Linked DNA regions of Homo sapiens: region 2 is linked to region 1. The links are contacts of gene promoters, found by promoter capture Hi-C in blood cells and fetal thymus (Javierre and others, 2016). All regions are on one chromosome and are shown on one strand. Each heading gives the region's core, a stretch centred on a gene start or on the middle of the fragment in contact. The rest is flanking DNA. Distances are from core to core; before and after follow the strand shown. Region 1 holds the start of CSMD2 (CUB and Sushi multiple domains 2). Region 2 has its middle 23 kb from the start of MIR552.

Region 1 (6,873 bases), core at 2,106-4,605:
TTTAAGAAGGGAGGGTGGCCAGGTGCGGTGGATCACGCCTGTAATCCCAGCACTTTGGGAGGGCAAGGTGGGCAGATCATGAGGTCAGGAGTTCGAGACCAGCCTGACCAACATGGAGAAACCCCCCTTCTCTATTAAAAATACAAAATTAGCTGGGCATGGTGGCATGCGCCTGTAATCACAGCTACTCAGGAGGCTGAGGCAGGAGAATCACTTGAACCCGGGAGGCAGAGGTTGCAGCAAGCCGAGATTGCGCCATTGCACTCCAGCCTGGACAACAAAAGAGTGAAACTCCCTCTCAAAAAAAAAAAAAAAAAAAAGGGAGGATGATTGATAGGGACAGCAGGTAATTGGTGGGAAGTCTCCAGGGAGGCTGGGGTGGGGAGGGGGAGGGGGAGTGCAAGGCAGGACAAGGACTAAAGGGGTTGAGGGGAGAAGGTATGGGTGGGTGAGGAGACTCCCCTTTTTCAAACTATTTTATTCATTTATCCAGTGATCACTGAGCCGAGGAAGGGAGACGGTTCAGTCCTGAGCATCTTTTAAATTCAACAGTGTGAACTGAACACAAAATGAATGTGTTTCCCCTTCTAATGTACCAAATCCTGCCGATCTTCTGTCACCAAGTCCATTTCCAAATCTCTGCTGCCTGCAAGGCCAAACAGCCCATCTAAAGGCGGGAAAGGCTTAAAAAGAAATGTACTGGGCTGGGCGCGGTGGCTCACATCTGTAAGCCCAGCACTTTGGGAGGCAGAGGCAGGCGGATCACCTGAAGTCAGGAGCTCGAGACCAGCCTGGCCAACATGGTGAAACCCCATCTCTCCTAAAAATACAAAAATTAACCGGGCGTGGTGACGGTCGCCTGTAATCCCAGCTACTCGGAAGACTGAGGCAGGAGAATCGCTTGAACCCAGGAGGCGGAGGTTGCAGTGAGCTGAGACCGCGCCATTGCACTCCAGCCTGGGCGAGAAGAGCAAAACTCCGTCTTAAAAAAAATTTAAAAAGAAAGAGAAGAAAAGAAAAGAAATGTACTGGAAGCTTGCAAGCCAGAGCAGGGCCTGCCGGAGAGGAACTACCCCAAGCCATGAACACAAGGCCCCCTCCCCGCAACTTCTCTACTGAGCAAGGAGCTGCGAGCAAATGGATCTCTATAGGGCAGGATTCCAGCACCGCTGAGCGGTGCAAGCGCCGGTGAGTCGGCCTTTTTCTCTCCCCTAGGGGCAGGATATGCCCAAGGGGCAGGGACAAATCTAGCCAGAAAAACAATTCAGTCCGATGCCGAGACATTCTCCAATCAGCTAAGCCAGAGACCGGCCTCGCCTCAACGTACGTCCGGGAGGCCTGGCGGGAGGTAGCAGCGATTCCCCCACCGCCCATGTGGCAAGTCTGGGTGACCAGCAGCGTCGGTATGCACAGCCTCCCAGTGGGTGTGGGTGTGCGAGAGGCCAGAGCTCCCAGGCGCGCGCACCGCGGGCGCCCCTCTCTGGGTGTCGGTGGCTATGACTCTTAGCAGAACCTAAGAAAGTCCCGTCAGCTAGGAATGAGAGAGCCAGAGCTGGCTCGGGGCGCCCTCCCTGACCAAGAACCCCAACATGCCGCGGTTAAGCGGTGGGCGACACGGTCTGCGAGGACAGACTCACAAGACGCTGAAGGCCAGAGTGGGCCAGAGAGCTCGCCACTCACTGACCTGCCAGAGGAGAGGCGCACTTTCCCAAGAAGGGGAACTGGGGTGGTCCAGGCCAAGCCTTCAGAGGTTCAATCGGTGGTTTCAAAACAAAACAAAACAAAACAAAAACAAAAACAAAAAAGAAAACACGGCTCCAGGTCGAAGGTGCCCTAGGTCTAGGCCTGGCCAGCAGGTGTTTCGGTTTCTCCCCCAGTGGGTGTCAGCCTCGCGGGCTAAATGAAAATGCGGTTCCAGGCATCCCGGTTTGGACCCGTCTCCACCCGGGCACACGGAACTTTCTAGCTTGTAGCTAGAACTGAGCTTCGGAGGGGTGCTGTGGGTAAAGCGGGAGGGCACCAGTCGCGGCCAGTAGCCTCCACAGGGGACCGGGTTCCCTCGAAGGTTCGCGTACCTCCCCCGCGCGCTGCAAGCTGCAGCCAGACACCCGCGAAGTTCCGGGACTCTCCGCACCCGCTAGATCTGCCCCTTCCCGGACTCGGTCGTCGGGAGCTGGTCCCGCCGCCCGCGCCGCCGCTGCCGCTGCCGCAGCCGAGGCGCTCGGCTGCAGCAGGGCGCGGGAAAGGGCACTTTGGCGCGGAGTGAGCACCGAGGGGAATGTGGCAGCGCGAAGCCTGGCGGCGGCACTCCCTCCCCCGCCTCGGGCTACAACCCCCACCCCCTCCTTCCCATCCCTCAACACCCTCCAGCCCCCACCTGCACCCTCCTGCAAGGAATGCGCGGGACCCCCACCGTGGGCACGCGTCCACCTGAACCCCCTCCTAGCTCCGAGCGCCGAGGGAGGGGTAGCATTTGAGGAGGGGGATGGCGGCCGCAGTCTGCAGTCGGTTCCAGAGGGGGCACCGGTTTCAATTGGAGAAAATGGGCGGGGGCAGGGAAGGGCAGACCTTGCAGACGCAGAAATGGGGAGGGGGCGCACGGTTCCTCTCCAGCCCCCAGGACCAGCGTGCCTGGCAGAATCAGGAGCCGGGGGAGTAGGGCTCCCGGAAAGTTTATCGGGAAAAAGCCTAGCACCGTGGGGGCTGGGAGGCTGGAGAAACTGAAGCCACAGACCAGGTGCCCCGCAACCCCGGGCGGGGATGTCTGTCTCCCAGGCCCCCACACCGGCCGCATCCGTCCAAGTTGCGGCTGGGGTTGGGGCAGCAGTGAGGGTGAGGGTGGAGGTGAGGACGTGGCTGAGGGTGGGGTGGGAGACGGAGGCAGGGATGAGAATGAGAGTAGGCAACTGGGAGGGTGGGAGATTCAGGCAGGGATAGAGGCGGGGGGAGGGACTGGGACCGGGTCGAGGATGGGTGGGCTCGGGGCTCGGGTGGGGCGCGCGGCGGCCGCTGGCTCCTCGGCGCGGCTGGACTCACCCGCGGCGGCCGAGACGCTGAGCAACCCACAGCCCAGCAACAGCAGCAGAGGCGGCGGCGTTGGCGGCGGCGGGCGGCCCCAGCGGCTCCCGGCGCCCGGCACAAGCGCCGAAATCCCGGTTTCGCCGCGAGCCCTCCCCGCGGGGCAGCCGCAGCGCCCCAGCTCCCGTCCCCGCGAGCGCGGCATGGCGCGGCCGGCAGCGCCGAGGGAGAGGCTCCGCTCGCCGCCGAGGAGAAAGGAGGTCAGGAGAGCTCTGGAGCTTTTTTCTGCTCGGAAAAAATCCCGGTACGCGGGAGCCCTGAGCTTCTGCGGCTGGAATGAACCAAGTGTCCGCCCGGCCGGGGAGAGGCGCGCTGCGCTCTCGGAAATGACTCGCTCCAATCCCGCTTCGCGGGGTTCGCGCCGGGGGGCGGGAGGGGGTGAATTATCCCCGGATTAATCACTCCGGAGCCGCTTCTCCGCCGCTCCAAATGCTGGGGGTGGAGGCGCAGCTAAGGATAAAATATTGGGGGGCGGGGGTTCCTCTTCAGCGCCACCTCCACCTCCAGATAAACCACAAATTACATCTAAAGGGTTGTTTATCCGTGTCTGTTTTGCAATTGACCAGTTTCTTTTAAGTTCAGTCCTCCTGTTTTCATTTATAACATCACCCATTAATACACCCCCCTCTCCACACACACACACACAAACACACACACACACACACAGTGACAGAGACACACGCACTCACACACACAGGCACATACACGCACACCTCTTCCACGTTTGGAAATTGGAATCCTGTCTGGGAAAAGGTAACCAAAGAAGGACGCGTTCCCCAAGTCTTGGCTCTTACCAGCTGATCTTGGGTGGTGGCTTTGAACTTGCCATCTAGGGCCGGGGGCGATGCTTATGAGCCTCATTCACAATAGCCTCCTACCCCATCCCAGGAGAGGGGCGTGTGTGCGTAGACAGAGGCAGGGTTAAGAATTGGAGGGCGGTGGAGGGGGGTTGTGTGTGGGGTGGGGAGGGGGGGGAACCGGTTCATTTGACCCAGTGCGGTCCCACTCCTACCCTAAGACAAAAATCTCAGGGTGGCAGAGGCGGTCCCTGTGTGCACGCGAGTTGGGGGTGGGGAGTGAGGTTGGTGGAAGGACGGTGCAAGAGTTACTAGTACAATTTATCCCCAAATTTAAATAATCGGATCCTACTTCTTCTTCTCCCCTTCCTCCTCCCAGCCAAGGCCCCAAACCAAGAGAGTTCTTCCCAAGGACGTGAGCTGCTCCCCACCTCTCCCCAGTAGCGGCTGCCTCTAGGCCCCAAGGGCTTAGTGTCGGTCCCCACCCCATCCCCCACCCGACTCGGTCGCCGTCTCTGTCTCGTCTACTCCAGGCTTCTCCGCCAGTCACGATGGCTCCTTCGCTGTCTACGCCAAACTCTCGGCGAGAGGGAAGAGACGCTTCATGGGGGGAGGCTGGAGGAAACTGGGAGGGGCAAGGTCCAGAGAGGAGGCTTCTGCTGGCGCGTGCAGTGGAAAGGCACCTGCGATGGGCACCCCCGCCCCCTTTGCCGACACACCCCAGAGAAGCTGTGCTCCGGGCTTAGGGCAGCCTGATTTGGCCAAAACGGAGCGTTGGCATCTGTGTGGCCAAGGGGGCAGTGGCCGGCGGGCGGTGGGGCCTGAGAATTTCCGGGGAAGGGTGTGGAGAGGGACTGTAGGGATGGCGAGCCAGGCTGGGGGTGGCTGGCGACCCAGGTTGGCCGGCTGTCAGCGTGGCCAGGAATTTCCATCCAAGGAAGGGTGTGAAGAGGGGCTGTGGAGTTGACGATATGAATTGGGGGGCGGGGGCAGGGCTGGAGGAGTGGAGGCTTGTCCCTACTCCCCATGAAAAACTTCCTCCCCAGAGCCACGCTTTCGCAGCCTCCTAGATGCCACTCTTCCTCCCTCCCCCCACCCCAAGTTGTTCCGGTTTCCCTGCATGAGCTCATCCCACAGCTGGGGAGCCAGCCCGGTGGCCCTGGGCGGGCGAATCTCCTCAGAATCGCGGGCCTGGTCCCCACCCCCAACACGCTTGTATGCCCGCCCCTCCCGACGCCGCCTTGCTGGGTGCCAAGAACCAACCGAAGCAGCCAGAACTCCTCAGTGAAAGGCCTGCTTTATGTTCCCGGGGCAGTGAGGAGGGGGCTTCTCCCTTCCCATTGTCCAGACTCAGCCCCCGAAAGAGAGGGCTCAGCCTTCCCACCAGCCCTGGAGAGGAGGAAGGGACTGACTACGCCAGCAGTGAGTGGTGGTGGTGGCCTTGGGGGCTGTTAGCTGGGCTTGCCTGGGGGTGGGCTCCTGGCTTCTAAGCTCCGACTTTACCCCTCTCTTGGAGGCGGGGTTCTCCTCCAGAGAAAGGAACTGGCAGAGATGCCCAGGCCTCCTGTGCAGCCCACAGCTGGGCAGAAGAGAGTCTGGGCTGCTCTGTAATTCTGGGGCTGCAGGCCAATGGGCTTTCTCTTACCCTCTTCTCAGCTCCAGAACTTTGCTCTGTGGCTGCAACGGGCAGATGAGATTTACCCCCAGAACTTTCCCGGGCAAAAGGAGCGTTTGTCATCCTTCTCCCTGGGGGCTGTGGAGGGCAGGGCACCTATTTTATCCCTGCAAAAGGCCCAGTTACTCACATCCTCCGCCATTCCTGCTCTCTGATCTATTTGGGTCCACGTGCTTTCACTGAGCGCCTCCTGTGCTCGGGGGCCCTGAGCGAGGCTGTGCTCTGGGCCCTGCAGAGATGCACAGTGTGTGGTCCTGCTTTGGGAGGATGCAGGCCAGAGGTGGAAACCCACACGTAACTGATACCGTCAGACAGCGATAATCACCATGACTGAAGAACCGGCATGCTACCGAGAGGCATGTCAAGACAGTGAGCTTTTCCTGGACTTGGGGGATCAGAAGGCTAATTTAAGAAGGAAAGTAGGATTTGGTCTGGAACCTGAGACATGGATAAAGACCTTGAAAAGATGAAGATTCATTTACTCAACAAATATTTATTGAGCATCATTATGTGCCTGGGTGCTGTGCTAGACAATGAATATACACCTAGTGCACAGTCCCTGACTTGATGAAGGCAGAAAATATGTATACAAATACACATAAAGTTACTAATTAAGGATGCTACAAAAGGAAAGTTTATGGTGCTAGGAGAAACAATATGGGGATGTGCTTTAAGGAGATGGTCTGAGAAGGCCTCTCTGAGATGGCAACGGTGGAAGATGGGATCTAAAATTAAGCAAGATGCTCAGGAGGCTAAAGCCAGAGGATCATTTGAGCCCAGCTGTTCAAGGCTGCAGTGAGCCATGATCACACCACTGCACTCCAGCCTGGGTGACAGAGCCAGACTATCTGTCTATGAATTAATTAATTAATTAATTAATATAATAATAGAATTAAGCAAGGCAGCCATGCAAAGTTGGGGAAAGAGCTTTTGGTATAGTGAGCACAGGCAAGGCTGTAAAAAGGAAAGGGGGCCAGGAGGAGGAGGATGGGGCTGGATCCAGGTAAGCAATGGGAGATAGGGAGTGGGGCAGATCACATAGGGTCTATTAGGGGATGGCGAGGAGTTTGCATTTTATTCTTAGCCAGTGAGAAATAGAAGGTGTATTAATTTGCTAGGACTGCTGCCACAACAAAGTACCATAGACCCTGTGGCTTAAAAAACAGAAATGTATTGCCTCACAATTCTGGAGGCTGGAAGTCCAAGATCAAGAGGTCGACACAGTTGGTTCCCTCTGAGGCTTCTCTCTCTGGCTTGTAGATGGCTGCCTTCTTCTCCCTGTGTCCTCACATGTGTTCCCATGGTACATATCTGTGTCCAAAC
Region 2 (6,593 bases), core at 488-2,987, 530 kb after region 1:
TATGAAGTACACGGCCTTAAGTTGCAGAACAGCCCAGGTTGGGCAGCATGTGGATCACTCCCTGGGAGCCAGCTCCCCAGATGGCCATGTGTGCTGCCTTCTGAACTGTCCATTCCTCTGTCATCCATGAAAAGCAATCTCAGCCTCCATCTAAGCTACTTGTGGGAAGAGCCCCTCGCATGTTGCACTTCCCACGCCTGCTGTCCTGTTCCCTACAATTGCTCCTTCTCAGGAACCCATTCCATCCACCTTCCTGCACTAAGGTGTCACTAACCCAAGCCTGCCTGCTCTCTGTAGCTGACTACGTTAAGGGTGAAGGAGGGTATAAAATAGCACACAGCTGAAAACATTTAAAATTGTCACCATCAAAGAGTTCTTTAACCACCTCAACAAAGGATACTTCCCATAGTATTCTTTATTACTATGACTGTGTACCCATCTGTCTTATCACTCTTCTGGAGCCCCAGACTGCTGCCCTGTTCAGAGGCACTTAATTTCTCTACCATGAACATTATTTAATCTCCTCTTTTCCTGACTGTTACAAGACCCTGAAAACTCCCTCCCTTTTGAGCTGCCAGTGAACTGTTCGGGAATTCCTGCTAGCTTGTTCTGTAGAGCAATTTAGTTTAGAGCCTCCCCTTTCCAGACAATTCGAGGTGGAGGTAGGGAGTGAGCCTTCCCTTGAATAATCCAAAAAGCCTGACTATAGTGTTTTTGTTTTTTTTTTTAAACAAAAGAGCAGCCTTCCTTCTGTTGGGCACCTCCTCGCCCCACACCTGGAGTTTAAAAGTGGCTGTAGGCATTTCTATTTTTAAATAGCATTTTTCCCTGGCTAATACACATATGCAATACACAGAAACCCCTGGAAATTCCTTGAGTTTTTATTAAAAATTCCAGATGGTGCAGCAGAGATTTCAGACACTAAAGCTTCTGTTAACAACAGGAAATTAATAACCAAGCTGACTCAAAGTCAACATCGTCTGGTTTGATGACAATAACGTGAAAAAAAAGGAAGCAGGTAACACAGCATTTGAGGTGACACAGTGTCAGAGGCACAAGCTGCAGAATGAGCAAGGCCTGGGCTTGAATCTCACATCTCCCATTTATTAGTGGGGAAACCTCGGGGAAGTCACTTAACCACTCTGTGCCTGTTTCGTCATGTGCAAAACAGAAAAATAACAGGATAGCTCTGCTGTCATGCCTCGTAAGTGTTCCTAAAAGTCACCCGCTATGGATAAACAAAGTGTAGTATATACACACAATGGAAGATTATTCAGCCTTAAAAAAGAAGGAAATTCTGACCCATGCTACAACATGCGTGAACTTTGAGGACATTATGCTAAGTGAAATAAAACAGTCACAAAAGGACATATACCGTATGATTCCACTTATAGAGTAGTCAAATTTCTAGAGACTGGAAGTAGAATGGTGGTTGCCAGGAGCAGGGGAGAAGAGAAGTGGGGAGTTGTGAACTGGGTATAGAAGTTCAGTTTTTTTAAGATGAAAATAATTCTGTGGATGGATGGTGGTGACAGTAGCACCACAATATGAATGTCCTTAGTACCACTGAGCTGTATATTTTAAAATGGACACATTGGGCTGGGCATGGTGGCTCATGCCTATAATCCCAGCACTTTGGGAGGCCAAGGCAAGTGGATCACCTGAGGTCAAGAGTTCGGGACCAGCCTGGCCAACATGGTAAAACCCCATCTCTACTAAAAATGCAAAAATTAGCCGGGCACAGTGGCACATGCCTGTAATCCCAGCCACCCAGGAGGATGAGGCAGGATAATTGCTTGAACCGAAGAGGCTGAAGTTGCAGTGAGCTGAGATCATGCCAATGCACTCCAGCTTGGGCGACAGAGCAAGACTCTGTCAAAAAAAAAAAAAAAAAATCACAGTGAAAATTTTTATGCTGTGTCTTTTTATCACAATTTAGAAAAAAATAAAATAAAATAAAACAAAGAATCACCACACTGTGCAAAAACCACAGGGTTCATGAGAACAATGGAGTTGGGGTACAATGCTCATAAACTTCCTTCGGCGACACACGAAAAATAAAAGAAACCTAATAAAAAGGGTAACACGGTTTTACACATGTTAAATGCCATAAAAGACATACATAGACACTACAATAAGCATGACGCTACACACACTTCACTCTGTATGTGGAAGCGAGCTTCAGAATTACTGTCAGGTGGTGGGAGGAGGTAGATCTGGAGTCAGAAGGAAGGTTGTAGCATCCTGTGAGTGGCCATAACACACAGGAACTGAGAATGCTGGGAGATGTTTGAAGTGTGTCCATGTGTGTGTTATGTATATTCCTACACAGCTCAGTTCAACTGGGTGCAATTTTCTGCACTCACCTTGTGTTTCTCACACACCAAATCAGACATAAGCAAATGCAAAACTAACATGATGCTCAAATAGTTTCCTGACACATGGATCGCATTGAAACAAATTTGCATTTTCAAAATAAGCACCGTAGCCAAACAGACTGTATCTACCTGATGGAATTGTTACAAGGATTATGCGATTTAATGCAGATGAAGCTTTCAATAGTGCCCACCCCATGGTAACTGCTCAAAAATAATGCTAGTGACTGTGGTGTGTGGAACAATGGCAGTGGTTATTGTGGGGCCATAGCTATTTTTCATGTTACTACTCCAAAGGGAGTAGCCCAGAGATGGACGAAGGGAGACTGCATGCCCATTTTACAGATGACAGAACTAAGGCTCAAAGAATCTGAGAAATTTCTCAAGATCATACAAGAGTCTGGTACAAAGTGCACAGAAGTCTGGACCGCTGCACCCTTCTAGGTCAACAGAGGTGACCAGATGGTTTCTGCGAACTCCTGCAGGGGACATGGTCAAGTACCCAAATGTCTGCTTACACCCCAGAAAATAAGCTGGCATATAGAAAGGGGCAAGGAACCACAGCTGGAGAGCTCCTAGGCTTTAGGGAGCCTTTAATTAAAAACAAAAATGAAAAAACAGATATAGAACTTGTTTCGTGTTCCCTGGGTGCCTGGTGGTTTAATCACTTTGCTCAGGTCAACAGGCCTATCAGGAAAAGTCTCTCCACCTTCAGGGAATTTGAGCCCTTTTTAAAAGGCAAAGAAAATGGGTAAAACTTTCAGTTCTGTCTGAAAAAACAAGACTGACTTTTCTGGTGGTTCCTATTGACTTGGAAAGAGCACATCTGCCCGTCAAATGGCATTTTACCAGCTGATCAATTTGGTGTCATTCTCATTGAATTAAATCAAATTGAAATGTAATTCCCTTCCCGGAACAAATCCCCCTGCAGGGATTCGCTGCACAGAAGTGTTTGACCTTGTACTGGCTGCCTAGAGGGCTTTCCAGAAATCTAGGGGCATATGAGAGGTCTGCAGAGCTCACGGAGTGCTGGGCACAACCCACTCAGCTGACTTTCAGGCTGGACTTTGCAGGAATTAGAAAAAGCCTCCCCCACAAGGTGGTAAAATTACAAAATGCTGCCTCGTCTGGAAGGGAGAAGCTGCTCCTTCTTCTAGGCTTTGGCAGCCCCAAACCAGGCTGCAAAGGTTGGAGAGTATAAGTGAGCTGGTTTTTAACCCCAATCACCCCCCAGACTCAACTTACCCAACCACAGGCAGCAGCACTAGTCAGCTCCCATTGCGGCCACCATAGTAGGCTCAGCTCTGAGAGATCCCTGGAGCACAGGCTCAGCTCCGGCCAACACAGATGTGGCTCCAAGGATCCAGTGGCTCTTGGCTGAACTGGCTACAACTGTCTCTACCAAGCCTTGGGAGACCCTAAGTACAAGATCACAAAGCAATCTATGCCCAGAACTCCCCATGGAACCTGAGGCTGTGCACCTCTGACCTGTGACCCTCCTGTCCTTTATCCATCCCTTCACTCTGCCTTGGAAGTCAGAGGACCTGCCACCAAATCTCAGCTCTCCTGGGCCAGTGACTTAACCTCTCTGAGCTTCAGCCCCTCACTGTCAAAGCTACAGAAGCAATACCTGACAGCCACATGTGGAAGTGAGCGTGGGACCGAGAAGCAAGGCTGCCCTCTGAGAAAGAGGTTAGTAAAATCCACGCAGAATGATGAAATATGTTGTCTGTTGGCACAAACCAAGAGATGACCTGAAAATGTGACTGAACAGAGTTTGGGAAGACCCCAAAAGCCAATCATGGTGGCCTGGGTATGGTCACGGGGAGGCAAGACTTTGGGAGGGGGTGATGGTAATTGAGTAAGCAGAAACCTAATTAACTAAATCAGTTGACAAAAGACTGCGTGAACAGAGAGAACATGCCTAGCCTGGAGCAGAGACAAGGGGAGCCCAAGGAGCCAGAAGTTGGCCATATTTATTCTGCAATAAATTCACAAAGTTGATGCCAGGCTCAAAGGCCTCTTAGCAGCCAACCTATCAGCCTCCTCTTAGAAATGCCCAACCTCTCATCAACCCTTTTCAAGCTGCAACAATCCTTAGTCCCAGGGTTGTCATAAGGATTAAACAGGGAAGTGCCTGGGACATAGCAGGTGGCAAATGAACTAACATTCCCCTCTCACTCGGTTCCCTTTTTTCCTACAATAATAACCAATGTCAAGTCATTCTAGCCACACAAGCATTTTCTCCTAGATTTTCCTGAGGTCCCTGCTCTTCCATTCCCTGGTCCAACTATCTTCTCCGCATATATCCACCCATCCCACCTCCTTCCTCTATGCCCTGTGGGTTGACGCTTTTACTGTCAAGGAACTCCTCTCTGCTCTAAATCTAGTGGGAAACGAAAATTAGTGAACTAATCACAGAAATATCTACTTACAACTGGCGCCAAGTGTTCTGAAGGAAAGGTGGGAGCATAGGTAGTGGGTGCTGTGGTGTGCCCCCCAATCCTCCCTTCAGGGCTGAGACACTTATTCCCAACTGCCAAGGGTATTGGATGCTGGCAGCTCTCACTTGAGTCTTCCTCAAGAATTGCCCTCAGCCCTTAACAGCCACCTTGCAAAGACCAAGCCCCATCCCTGGGGTATGTCATTGCCAATGACCAGTAAATGCAGTCACGGGAAAGCTACTGGGTGGTCCCAGCTCCACAGCTCCTTAAGGAATTGATGTTGGCCTTGATTATGACATTATCACAGCTCTACCACTCCACCTGCTCATTCTCACTCCCACCTCATACCCTGTGGGTGTCGGTTCCATGCACACAGGTCCCTGTCCTGGAATCTGTCCCAGAAGGAACAACAAAGACAACATGTCAAAGAAGGATTGCTCTAGTTGGTGGCCGGGGATGAGGGGAATGTTTGATGGTCACAGAAAGCTTCCCTAATAAAAAATGGGTACATTTGAGTGGAAATCCAAAGAATAAGGAGTTATCTAGACGAAAAAAAGAGAGGAAAGATGTTCTAGGCAGAGGGAACAGAATGTGGGAAGACCCTGAGACAAGAAGGACATTTCAAGGCAGTGTGGCTGGAACACTGAGCATGAGAGAAGTCAGGGGAGCAAGGACAGTGAGGATGGAAAGGTTGGCATGGGCTGGATCAGGCAGGGCTGAGCAGGCTGAGTTAGGACACAGTCTGACCCAAGGAAAACGTTCTGATCCGTGATTGTATTAGTTTGCCGGTGCTGCCATAACAAAATGCCACAGACTAAGTGGCTTAAACAACAAGAATTTACTCCTCACAGTTCTGGAGGCTGGAAGTCCAAGATCAAGGTGTCGGCAGGGTTGGTCTCCTCCAAGGCCTCTCTCACTGGTTGCAGATGGCCACCCTCTTGCCGCCCTTTTCATATACACGGTCATCCATCTGTGCACGCCACCCCTGGTGTCTCTTTGCCTCCAAATTTCTTTTTATGAGGACGTCAAGTAGATGGGATTAGGGCCTGCTCTAATGGCCTCATTTTAACTTAATCTCCTCTTTAAAGGTCCTATCCCCAAATACTGTTACATTCTGAGTACTGAGGGTTAGGATTTCAGCATATGAATTTGGTGGGGTGGGCACAGCTCAGCTCATGACAGTGATGTTATCTGTCAGCAAGATCTTATACATGTATAAAACTGAAACCTCAATGAATTAAAACTGTAAATAACCACCTTTGTTGAAAATTAATTAACATTTTATTGCGCCTGTCCTAGAAAACACCAAAACATATGCTTGCGCATGTGTATATGTCATTTCCACCACATCCCCACCAGCACCCTCCACTGCCCCTGAACCTGCGGTCCCAATCCCCACCTTTATTCACAGATCCCTCCTTCCTCTCTGCCCCTGTCCCAGGCTGGCTGCCTGCCAAGTACTGCTGGAGAAAATCAAATAACTGTGCTGATCCACTCCATTACAGATTCGCGGTCTCCAGCTTTGGCTAGGCTCTCCTCTGCCCTCCAATCCTCCTGTTCACTCCCGGACTTGTCCATTTCCCATTCTGCTCCACAGTTGTGCCAACCCTTTCCACCCTCTGCCAGTCTCACTGACCCACCGCTGCCCCTCCCTCTCTGAAGACCATCTGTCCTACTTTACAGAGGAAGGACAGGTCATGAGGCTGCTGCCCACTTTCTTTCCTTGCCCCCTCCTAATTTTTTCACAGCTAACTAGAGGAAGAAAGATGTGGAA

The links. The method cuts DNA at HindIII sites, captures the fragments that hold promoters and counts their contacts. A CHiCAGO score of 5 or more calls a contact.
Region 2: a fragment that was not itself captured here is called in contact with the fragment with the promoter of CSMD2 in region 1 in 1 of 17 cell types (M1 macrophages); the score reaches 5.2 in M1 macrophages.

What each region holds. Positions count from the first base shown.
Region 1 is chr1:34,161,875-34,168,747 of GRCh38, forward strand. It overlaps CSMD2 (CUB and Sushi multiple domains 2), which reads right to left and starts at 3,356. Exons shown (of 71, transcript NM_001281956.2): 1 at 3,037-3,356. The coding sequence starts at 3,223. It also overlaps a transcript of C1orf94 not described here. RefSeq lists enhancers at 1,257-1,386, 1,807-1,866. The HindIII fragment of the contact is 6,831 bases long and covers 1,034-6,873 here.
Region 2 is chr1:34,689,486-34,696,078 of GRCh38, forward strand. No RefSeq gene overlaps it. Among named protein-coding and RNA genes, the nearest start is that of MIR552, 23 kb to the left of the region's middle. The HindIII fragment of the contact is 1,625 bases long and covers 926-2,550 here.